Regions from separate parts of the Homo sapiens genome. Here region 1 is linked to region 2. The links are contacts of gene promoters, found by promoter capture Hi-C in blood cells and fetal thymus (Javierre and others, 2016). All regions are on one chromosome and are shown on one strand. The core of a region is centred on a gene start or on the middle of the fragment in contact, and the rest is flanking DNA. Distances in the headings are between cores, read along the strand shown. Region 1 has its middle 84 kb from the start of SLC44A1. Region 2 holds the start of FSD1L (fibronectin type III and SPRY domain containing 1 like).

Region 1 (5,537 bases), core at 2,603-5,102, 290 kb before region 2:
GCTGAGACTACAGGTGCACATCATCACACCTGGCTAATTTTTATATTTTTAGTAGAGACGGGGTTTCTCCATATTGGTCAGACTGCTCTGGAACTCCTGATCCCAGGTGATCCAACTCGCCTAGGCCTCCCAAAGTGCTGGGATTACAGGCTTGAGCCACCGTGCACGGCCTGGCATAACTTTTATGCACAAATCTTTGCGATTACACGAGGTGATAGGCACAAAAACTATTGATTCCCCCAATATAAATTGGGGAAGGAGTGGATGTTCTCAAAGCGCATTCGGGGCAGCCACACACCACCTGGAAGAAGCTTCGGGTCTCGTGGATGTGGCCCAAGTGAAGTGGTGGCCCATCATGCATTGCGATGGTGGGTAGGCGGGTAGGGGCGGGGCTAGGGCCGGAAGTAGAACTGTGGCCTCCATGGCCACTTGGGACCCCAGAGGTTCTATGCAAGAAACATAGACTCACCGTGATTCTTTTTTTTCTTTTCTTTTCTTTTGTTTTCTTTTCTTTTCTTTTCTTTCTTGTTTTGTTTTTTTGAGGCGGAGTTTCACTCTTGGTTGCCCAAGCTAGAGTGCAATGGCATGATCTCGGCTCACTGCAACTTCCACCTCCCAGGTTCAGGTGATTCTCCTGCCTCAGCCTTCCGAGTAGCTGGGATTACAAGCATCTGCCACCATGCCCAGCGAATTTTTGTACGTTTAGTAGAGATGGGGTTTCGCCATGTTGACCAGGCTGGTCTTGAACTCCTGATCTCAGGTGATCTGCCCGCTTCTGCCTCCCAAAGTGCTGTGATTACAGGCGTGAGCCTGCCTCCCAAAGTGCTGTGATTACAGGCATGAGCCATTGTGCCCCGCCCACTATGATTCTTTAGAGGCTCTTTGGGGTCTCCTCTGTGCTTCTGTCAGCAGTTTCAGTCCATTTTCCCAAGAACATTGGTGATAACAGCAGTGACATTTAATAAGGAAATTGATCCTGTGTAGAAACTTCATGGACAAGATTAGAGAATACAAATCTAAGTGACTGGCATCTGTAGGACCTTTTGATATTGGCCCACCTTTTCATATTGGCCCAATGTGTCAGCAAGAGCTGGAGAGGAAGCTTTTAAAGCTTGAGCAGATGGCTCATGGCATCAGAATAAATCTTCCGTGAAAGCAATGTCTGAGACGGGGCTAAACTAATAGTCTAAGTCAGGGATCAGTGAACTATCAGCCTGCTTTGTAAATAAAGTTTTATTGGAGCACAGCCGTGCTCATTTATTTAAATATTGTCCTATGGATGTCTTCACACTATAACGACAGACATAAGTAGTTGCAACAGAGACCGTGTGGTCTGAGAAGCCTAAAATATTTACTCTCTGGCCCTTTATAGAAAAAGTTTGCCAATTCATGGTCTGTATGAATTACCCAGGGAGAACATGGCTTTCAGTCTTCCAAAAACATCCATTCCTCCAGCTGGCTTCTAATAAGAATTACAGATGATATAGTGATGAAGTCCTAAGAATTCACTTTTTGGTTTAGAAGCTGATAAACTGGTACTCTTAAAAAAAAAAAAAAAAAAGAGAAAGAAAGAAAACAAAAGGAAGTCCAAACTTATAATGTTTGCCAGTTTCCATGGTGTAAATCAGGAGTTCTTAACCTCCACACCATTGGTGTTTGGAGCCAGATAATTCTTTTTTAGACGGAGTCTCTTTCTGTTGCCAGGCTGGAGTACAGTGGTGTGATACCGGCTCACTGCAGCCTCTGACTCCCCGGTTCAAGTGATTCTCTTGCCTCAGTCTCCCGAGTAGCTAGGATTACAGGGATACGCCACCACGTCCAGCTAATTTTTGTATTTTTAGTAGAGCCAGGGTTTCACCATGTTGGCCAAGATGGTCTCCATCTCCTGACCTTGTGATCCGCCCACCTCGGCCTCCCAAAGTGCTGGGATTACAGGTGTGAGCCACAGCACCTGGCCTGGAGCCAGATAATTCTTACGAAGCACTGGCCTTTAAAGAATATTGAGTAGCATCCCTGGCTTCTACCCACTAGATGTCAGTAGCAACCCCCCAGTTATGACAACAAAATATTAATATGTCTCTAGAGATTGTCAAATGTGCCCTAGGGGGCAAAATCTTTCTCATTGAGAATCACTGGTGTAAATACTCCTGCTATAACCAATTTCAAGCTAGTAACTTGACATCAGTGAACATGGATGTGGAGAAAGGTGCACACAGTCTAACAAACCAGTAAGAACCATCTCCAGTGCTGTGTGAGAACATACTTGCACAGGTAGTGATGTTGTTGCCCTATTTTTAAAATTGAGGTGCCTAACCAGGATCCACATAGAAATTAATCTGCTGGCAAGGTTAATTTTTTTCTTCAGGAAGTGGGCTGAATCTCTCTGCACAAAGTTATATACCATAAAGCATGGTTGAGATTACTATGAACTAAAAAATATCCAAAGCAAATATCAACATTTACCCCAATGGTATTTAAAACTCTCAATAATATATCAACAAATCCTATGGCTTTCCAGTGGATTTGACAGGATGAATGAGTCTCAAGGAAATTGAATGACTGTACTTGTTAGATGGATTTGGGTTCTGTTTTGTTGTGATTGTTGTTTTGTGGGGGATTTTGTTATTTAAGTCAAATGAATTTGGGGAAATATCTGCCAATAATTATGATATTATCTTTGGAAGACTTTGCATTAAAAGTACTGACAATGGTTAATTACTCAGAACCAATTACTAGGGACATTCTTGGGCCATGACATTAAAACCATTTCATCAGCACCCAGGAGGACATTTACCCTCCTGTTCCAGGACAGCAGCCATCTATTTTTATCTACAGTTTCAGTTGATTAAGCTATAACACTATTTCTATCAATCCTGAATTCTTGAGGGGCATTAAAATGCAAGTTTTGTAGGAGCATCAATAATGCAGTGTCTCTACTGAACTCGTGCTACTTAGAGTGACAGGCCAATAGCAGGTCAATAAAGGCTACAGTCATATTTTTCTTGCCAGATTTCTGCACAAGATCATTCCACACAATGACCAATGTTGTTACCACTTCTGGGTTTCCTTTCCCCTTACTAGTTGTGGCCTCCCTGGACACCACACACATACACACACACACACACACACACACACACACACAGAGTCATCCACAAATTTGAGCTTCACCTCCAGGGTCTCACCTGATTATTTTACCTTCATATAGGATGTTGGCATCTTGTGACATGTTAACACCCACTCATAAGAATTGCAAAAGTTCCCAGATGATCTAGATGCTCCCAAAATCTTGGCACCAAGGTATTACTTAAATATGCAGGACTTCTACAGTGAGCGGCAATAAACAAGTACCAAAATCTATATATCAAATTTGGGACAAATAAAGAATTCCAGCTTGAATTACTCAGACAGTACAACTACCAGAAATAGAGAAATTCTAATTATCATAAGGTGACCTTATGCAGTGATTTTACACACACACACACACACACACACACACACAATGATATAAAAGTTATAAATGCACTATAGCTTAGCATATGATTGTAAACCTCTGACCTTTAAATTGAGTAAAATTTACCCCCAATCCTTTGAAAATCTTCGCATACTTCATCTTCAACAAATAATACAGTAAATGTGCATAAAGACCATTTGCTCTACATGTAAAATTCTGACCTAGAAACCCAGACAAACAGTTTTTTAAGAATGAGCATAACGCAAAGACAAGAACAGTACAGCAAACCACCATAAATTAAAATGGAATTTTGAGAACTAGAAGGTTTCCTTTTATAAAATTGAGTGGCCTCTGTTTTGAGTGTATTCAAATTGAATAGTACTAGTAGAGTTAACAATGAAAAAGTTTGATAAGAATCAGATCACTACCAACAAGAGACTTTGAAAAAAATACAGTAAAATGTTCGGGCGCGGTGGCTCACGCCTGTAATCCCAGCACTTTGGGAGGCAGAGGTGGGCAAATCACGAGGTCAGGAGATCGAGACCATGCCGGCTAATACGATGAAACCCCATCTCTACTAAAAATACAAAAAATTGGGCGTGGTGGTGGGCGCCTGTAGTCCCAGCTACTTGGGAGGCTGAGGCAGGAGAATGGCGTGAACCCGGGAGGTGGAGCTTGCAGTGAGCTGAGATCGCACCACTGCACTCCAGCCTGGGTGAGAGAGCGAGACTCCGTCTCAAAAAAAAAAAAAGAAAGAAAGAAAGAAAGAAAGAAAAGAAAAAATACAGTAAAATAAGAAAGACTTTTTTGTTGTTTTTTTTGTTAAGACAGAGGCTGGAGTGCAGTGGCACCATCTCAGCTCACTGAAATCTCTGCCTCCCCGGTTCAAGTGATTCTCCTGCTTCAGCCTCCCAAGTAGCTGGGATTACAGGCATGAGCCACCATGACCAACTAATTTTTGTATTTTTAGTAGAGACGAGGTTTCACCCTATTGATCAGGCTAGTCTCGAACTACTGACCTCAGGTGATCCACCCACCTCGGCCTCCCAAAGTGCTGGGATTACAGGCGTGAGCCACTGTGCCCAGCCAACACCTATTCAGATTTAAACGTGATGACTCCTGGAGTCACTCCCACTCCTTTCCCTTCAGCTATGTAGCATTCTTTGTTTGCATAAGGCAGAGACTAGAGACTGTTAGGCTCAACAACCTCACCAGTACAACAGTTCAAGTGTACTGCTAACGCAGATCAAATTTGAGTCCCAGTTAAACGTTCCAGGGAATCCAGCACTGAAGAGGAGGGTTTTATTCAGGAGTCTTTGGGTTCCAAGTGAAAAAAATCCAACTCAAACTAGCATGGGCAAAAACATGGTAGCCAAATTCAGAAAGAATGATAGCCAGCTGGGCCTCAAGGTAAGACTGGATTTAGGGACTCAAATACTCTTAGCCCTCCCTTTCTGTTTTCCATCTCTACTGCTCTGCTTTGTCAGCATCTCTTTCTCAAGCCACCTTTTTCCAGCAGGAGAATGGAAGGAAAAAATGACCCCAAGGAACTCTAGGCTTATAACCAGAAAGGAACCAAGGGCCCTTTCTCACCAGCTCTACTTAGGAATATTCTAGGGAAGCCACTGAAGTAGTAGCACAACCAGGCTTGTGCTTTTAAAAGATGCCCCTGACTGCTGCGTGGAGAATATACTGGGCAGAGGCACAAATGCAAGCCCCGCTTGACCCTGCTGTTCCTCGGTGAAATCCTCTCTTCTCCTGCCTTCTGCGACACAGCAACATTCCTGGTCTCTGGTAGAGGCTAAGAAGCCCTTTAGGTTCATTTCTGTTGTCACCACAGAACATCTCCTGGGTACTTCATTATTCCCCAGTTGCACTGGGGAAATAATTCAGAGTACTATGCTGATTCTGAAGCTGGAACTCAAGTGGAAAATTTACTCAGACTGATCCTCAATATCGCTTCTTTCGATAGGTAAATCCAAACCATATTGTTCCAACTACTTTTTCTCCTGAGGCTGCTGTTACTACTTAGTTCAAACATATCCATAGCTCCTCAAGTTTAGATTTAAATACAGACTTCTCAGGC
Region 2 (5,662 bases), core at 626-3,125:
CATTGTAGAATAAATGCTGTTTCTCAAACACAGAGCTCCTTCTCTCCACAAGGCCTTTGTATTTGTTGTTCCTACTTTCTAGAATGTTCTTCCCTAGATCCTTGTACAATTCCTCTTCTCACTTTATACTCAGGTCATTTCCAAGAGAGATCTTCCCTGACATTTCTATGAAAAATTAAACCCTCCCAATTCTCTGAATCCATTTGCCTTATTTATTTATTTAGGAGCTGGGGTCTCACCCTGTTGCCCAGGCTGGAGTGCAGTGGTGTGATCTAGGCTCACTGCAACCTCTGCCTCCAGGACTCAAGTGATCCTCCCGCTTCAGCCTCCTGATTGGCTCTGGCTACAGGCTTGCAGCACCACGTCTGGCTAATTTTTTTTTTTTTAATTTCTGTAGAGATGGGGTTTTGCCATGTTGCCCAGGCTGGTCTCGAACTCCTGGACTCAAGTGATCCACTCATTGGGCCTCCCAAAGTGTTGGGATTACAGGTGTGAGCCACCATGCCTGGCCTAAGTTTTAATTTTAGCACCTATAACCGTCTAGCACGTTAACTTTTTTTTTTTTTTTGGTTGGTCTTCTATACTAGATTGTAAGCTCTGTGAGAGAAACAGGGCCTTGCCCACTACTGAATTTTGTTTGTAGAACTGGTACAGAATAGGTACTCAATATGTATTTCCCTTTTATTCATTCATCATAAATGACTGTCTAATTGAACTTTTGTGAGCCTCTCCAGAGTCATCCAAATGGAAGATGAGGCCTGTCTGCTTGAGGAAGAACTTTCTCAAGCCTACTAAATTCCAAGCTTTCTAAAATCTTCATTGATGCCTCAGGCCACACCGAGCAGGTTCTAACTCCCCACTAAGAATGACTATAATGGGCCTGGCACATGCCCTGTAACCCACACCTGTAATCCTAGCAATTTGGGAGGCTGAGGTGGGCGGACTGCCTGAGCTTAGGAGTTCGAGACCATCCTAAGCAACATGGCTAGAACCAGTCTCCGCTAAAAGTACAAAAAATTAGCCAGGTGTGGTGGGGGCGCCTGTAATCCCAGCTACTCATGAGGCTGAGGCACGAGAATTCCTGGAACCCGGGAGGCAGAGGTTGCAGTGAGCCAAGATGGCACCACTGCACTCCAGCCTCGGTGACAGACCGAGACTCCATCTCCAAAAAAAAAAAAAAAAAAAAAAAAAGAGAATGACTATAATTTATTCACTACTAATTATGTACCATACGTTATTTAATCCTCACAATCCTCTGCAAAGTCCGCATTATTTCTCTCATTTTACAGATGAAACAAGCTCAGGCAGACTGACTTGCTCAAAATCATACAGGTAGCGAGGTGCCGGGGAGGATGGGTGGGTCCCCGGGAAAAACTGTGCCAGGCCCCAAAGCTCATATTAATCCCACACCCACGTTTCCGCCACTCTCATCCCTATATCCCTCCTCCCACGTTTCCACCACATCCCCTAAAGGTCTTTTCCCACGTTTTCGCTACATCCCCACCCCAGCCCTTTTCCTCCCTTTGGACCGCTGGGTCCGCTCAAGCCTGGCTGCCCCTCGAAGGATAGTGTGGGGAGGGGCTTCAGATGCGTGCTGGGTGGAGGGTGGGCTAATCCGTCTCCAGCACCAGATACTCTTTCCTTCCCGGGCCCTCCGCACCGGCCGGCTGCTGGATGCCCAGTGGCCTATTTCAGGGCCGGAGAGACCGCTATCGCTGGAGGAAAAAGGATGGGGGAAGGGAGTGCAGCCTGCAGAGGCACTAGCGGTAGACAGACGGGCGGCGCTCCCCACCCTCCACGGCTACTTCCCGGGAGCAGTCAGCCGCTGCGCGCAGGCGCGGTGCGCTCCTCAGCCCCTCCCTTCTGCGGGCCGCCCTTTCACCCTGGCAACCGCGGCGTGACTACGGCGCGCGCGGTCTGGGCGCGGACGGGTGGGGCCGGGCGGTGCCGGTGCGGGCTGGGGCAGTGCAGTGAGTAGCGGTCTTGGGGTGTGCGATCTCGCTGAGCCTCCTCACACGGTTCGTCGTCTCGGGTTCGAGCCCAGTGGGCTTAGCCACTCGCCATGGACTCCCAGAAAGTAAGCGGGGGAGGGGAGCCCGGGGCTACCGAGACAAGCCGGGCCGGCACAGGGTGGGCGGGGCGCCTGGGCCCGTGGGCTGTGGGTGCGCGGGGTGGGCCTGGCCGGGCGTCCGGGCTGCTGCTGCGGAGGGCAAGGCCGCCCGGCCGCTCTCTGGGCGGGAGCTAAGAGGCGCCCACACGGATGCGGGGACCGCGCCCGGTGACTCGGGCTGGCCTCTGCTCTGCGCGCTGTCCGGGGCCCTGACTCTGGAGGAGAAACGGAGCCATCCCCCTTTTAAAATCAGCCACTCTGCAGCGCTTTAGGCCGGTTTTCATGCCTGCAGACTGCGAGCGTGCTGGTGGGGGTGTATCCCTCCTCAGCAGGTGAGGAAACCGAGGCACAGCCTTTTTGGTGTCTCCCTGCTGACGCCGAAAGCTGGGGCTTTCTCCTCGACCAAGTCTCGTCTCAGCACCACGCTCTTTAGGTCAGGGACCGAATCTCCTTTGTACCGCCCACCGCTCCCCTTCCCATGACTTTTCCTAAGTAGATCTTAGTGTTTAGTGTTCGTTGAATGGAGGGAAAAGACTTCAATTGTTAGGGCAGCCTTCCCACTCTCTGACCAGTTGGTGTTGCTGGGCACAGTTACTTAGGGGTCGTTGTGGAATGTTTTATACTTTCCGAACAGTTGAGGAAAGGTTATATAATCGTAAAGGTTCAATTCAGAAGTATTTGGAGAACAAAGCCAATGTCTTGAATACAGTTAGAAGTGAATTATTCAGTCATAATCTCCATATGAAAATAACCACCCTGTTCTCTTTGTTAGACTATAACGTAATTGAAATATAGTACAGGGTAGGAAAGAAAAAACAAGGAGTATTAATAATGTAGCAGGGAAAACAAAGACATATCTAAGAGACTATTCTTTTCTATTATTAGAAAGCACGGGAAAGACTTAGAACAACGTTTTCTACAATTTTGTCTACATTCACCTTCTTGAGGATCACTTCACTGAGGGCATGAGAGAATAATGATGTGTTGAGCATTGACTATTACAGTATTTAACAAATATGCATATGATTTCATTGTATGTGTTGGTCTTGAAACTCACCTTGGAATGCATGACTATTCTTAAGGCATTTTTTAAAAATTAGATTTTGTGTATTTTGAGTATGTATAGGTTTAAAATATTGTCTCTGCCTAAATTTGTAAAACATCTCTCAGCTTATTAGATAAAAGAAATGATATTTGAATGGACATTAGCAGAGGTCAAGTGAAGGAGCAAAGTCCGGAGACATGGGTTCCAGGATGCTATTTACTAGCTCTGTGATAAGGAGCAAGTCACTTAACTGTGATTAATCTGTTTCCTCATCTATGCAGTAGAAGTAAGAGTATTTTATAGTGTCATAGTAAAAATCTGATAAAATAGTTTGTTCTGAAAACACAGCATTTTAAAGTTTACAAAGTATGACCACTAAAATACTGTGTCCCATAAAATACAAAAAAATGTGTTTTAATATTGATCATCATACTTTATCAGGGATGCATTATTCCTTACTTTAATGAGTTGTGACTCCTGGAAGGTCATGCTACTAGCCCTAAGGCTAAGATTTGAACCTATTTGTTCTCATTTCGAATGATGTGTTAGGGTACCTACAGGTTACCACGTGCAGTTTCCTGAGAGGTAGCAAAGAATTAGCTTCTCTTTCTTAGTAGTAGTAGTAATGTATCTTATTTGTGATATCTTTGAGAATCAACTTCTCAATATTAGAAAATATGTTGAATTTCATTGGTGGTACCAAATCTTTCTAATGAAAAAACAAACACCCTTTGGTTTATAGCTGTAAAAAGAATGTCCGGGATTAATGTGTATAACCAGTTCAGTGCTCTGAACCTGAGCTTCCTTTTCTCGTATGAATTCCTGCAGAATCACAAGCCTCAAATAGTAATGATCTAAGCTGGATATTGTTCTCTTTAAATAAGACAGTAGTACACCCCAGACATGATTTTTAGATACTATTTTCTGTTATGGAATGTACATTGAAAATAGTAGTAGGGGTAGTACCTCAGTCAGTAGAGTATAAGAAAAATAGGTACTGCAAAGTGTGAGGAAGGCCTGAATATATACCTGAATGTTTGTTAGGCATTGGGATTTGGGCTTTACATTAGTAAGAGGATGGCTCTGGAGCCAAGTCTCCAGTTCTACTATTTATAAGCTGTATGAGCTGGGATAGTTTGCTCTGTCTCCATTTCTTCATCTGTAAAACAGAGATAACAATAATTGTAATTCTCTCACAAGATTATTGTGAGGATTGTGTTCTTTTTTTTTTTTTTTTGAGACGGAGTTTTGCTCTTGTCGCCCAGGCTGGAGTGCAACGGTGCAATCTTGGCTTACTGCAACCTCCGCCTCCTGGGTTGAAGAGATTCTCCTGCCTCAGCCTCCTGAGTAGCTGGGATTACAGGCGCCTGCCACCACCCCTGGCTAATTTTTGTATTTTTAGTAGAGACGGGGTTTTACCATGATGGCCAGCTGGTCTCAAACTCCTGACCTCACTCAGGTGATCCGCCAGCCTTGGCCTCACAAAGCGCTGCGATTACAGGCTTGAGCCACTGTGCCCGGTCTTGCATTCATTTTTAAAACCCACTAAACAGTGCCTAGCATACAAAAATACTGTTAGCTACTGTTATTAATTTAATAATCCTAACTTCAAAGTAACTTTCTCCTTTTAAAATTAAGTGTAGACATTTTTCCTTTTTTTTGAGACGAAGTCTCGCTCTGTGGCCCAGGCTGGAGTAGTGCAGTGGCGCGATCTTGGCTCACTGCAAGCTCCACCTCCCAGGTTCACGCCATTCTCCTGCCTCAGCCTCCCGAGTAGCTGGGACTACAGGCTCCCGCCACCACGCCTGGCTAATTTTTTGTATTTTTAGTAGAGACGGGGTTTCATCATGTTAGCCAGGATGGTCTCTATCTTCTGACCCCGTGATCCGCCCGCCTCGGCCTCCCAAAGTGCTGGGATTACAGGCGTGGGCCACCGCGCCCGGCCCGACATTTTTACTTTTAAAGCATCTTTTCTGCTATTATATCTGTAAGAAACGATTCACATGGTGGTTCCAGAGAAGAGTTGTTACATTCTAATAGAAAGAGGTTTGGAAGTTCTGAGTCATGCAGTCTGACAGTAGAGGTTAACTTAACTAGGCAGTCTTACAGAAGCTTCATGGTGGCTAGTCAACAAATGGATTAGCTTGACCAGCTGCTTTTTTGTTTGTGAAAATAACTTGGACTTCAGTGTTAATGTTAGCAGCAGATGCTCTGTTTGAGTAGAGGAAGAAAACGTAATAACCCCGGGTATGTAGGCATACTGTTGGATACAGAAAACCACAGTATTAACTCCTGGAAATAAACAGAGGGATTTTGTTTATATCGAGTTTCTGGGACGCTTTCGTGAACAGGATGTGTTATGGATAGGTGGCTTTTGTTTGATACTCAAACCTTTTGATTATGCCTTTAAACGGCTTTAAGATAAAATCCCAAAGGTTTCTTTACCGGATGAAATGTGCACGTTCAAAGAAAACGTTGAAACAAATAAGACATTTGTACCTTTTTAG

The links. The method cuts DNA at HindIII sites, captures the fragments that hold promoters and counts their contacts. A CHiCAGO score of 5 or more calls a contact.
Region 1: a contact is called between a fragment that was not itself captured here and the fragment with the promoter of FSD1L in region 2, in 1 of 17 cell types (M0 macrophages). The highest score is 7.0, in M0 macrophages.

What each region holds. Positions count from the first base shown.
Region 1 is chr9:105,157,844-105,163,380 of GRCh38, forward strand. No RefSeq gene overlaps it. Among named protein-coding and RNA genes, the nearest start is that of SLC44A1, 84 kb to the right of the region's middle. The HindIII fragment of the contact is 5,486 bases long and covers 1,110-5,537 here.
Region 2 is chr9:105,446,159-105,451,820 of GRCh38, forward strand. FSD1L (fibronectin type III and SPRY domain containing 1 like) reads left to right here and starts at 1,876. Exons shown (of 14, transcript NM_001145313.3): 1 at 1,876-2,077. The coding sequence starts at 2,063. RefSeq lists a silencer at 1,757-2,366. The HindIII fragment of the contact is 4,464 bases long and covers 802-5,265 here.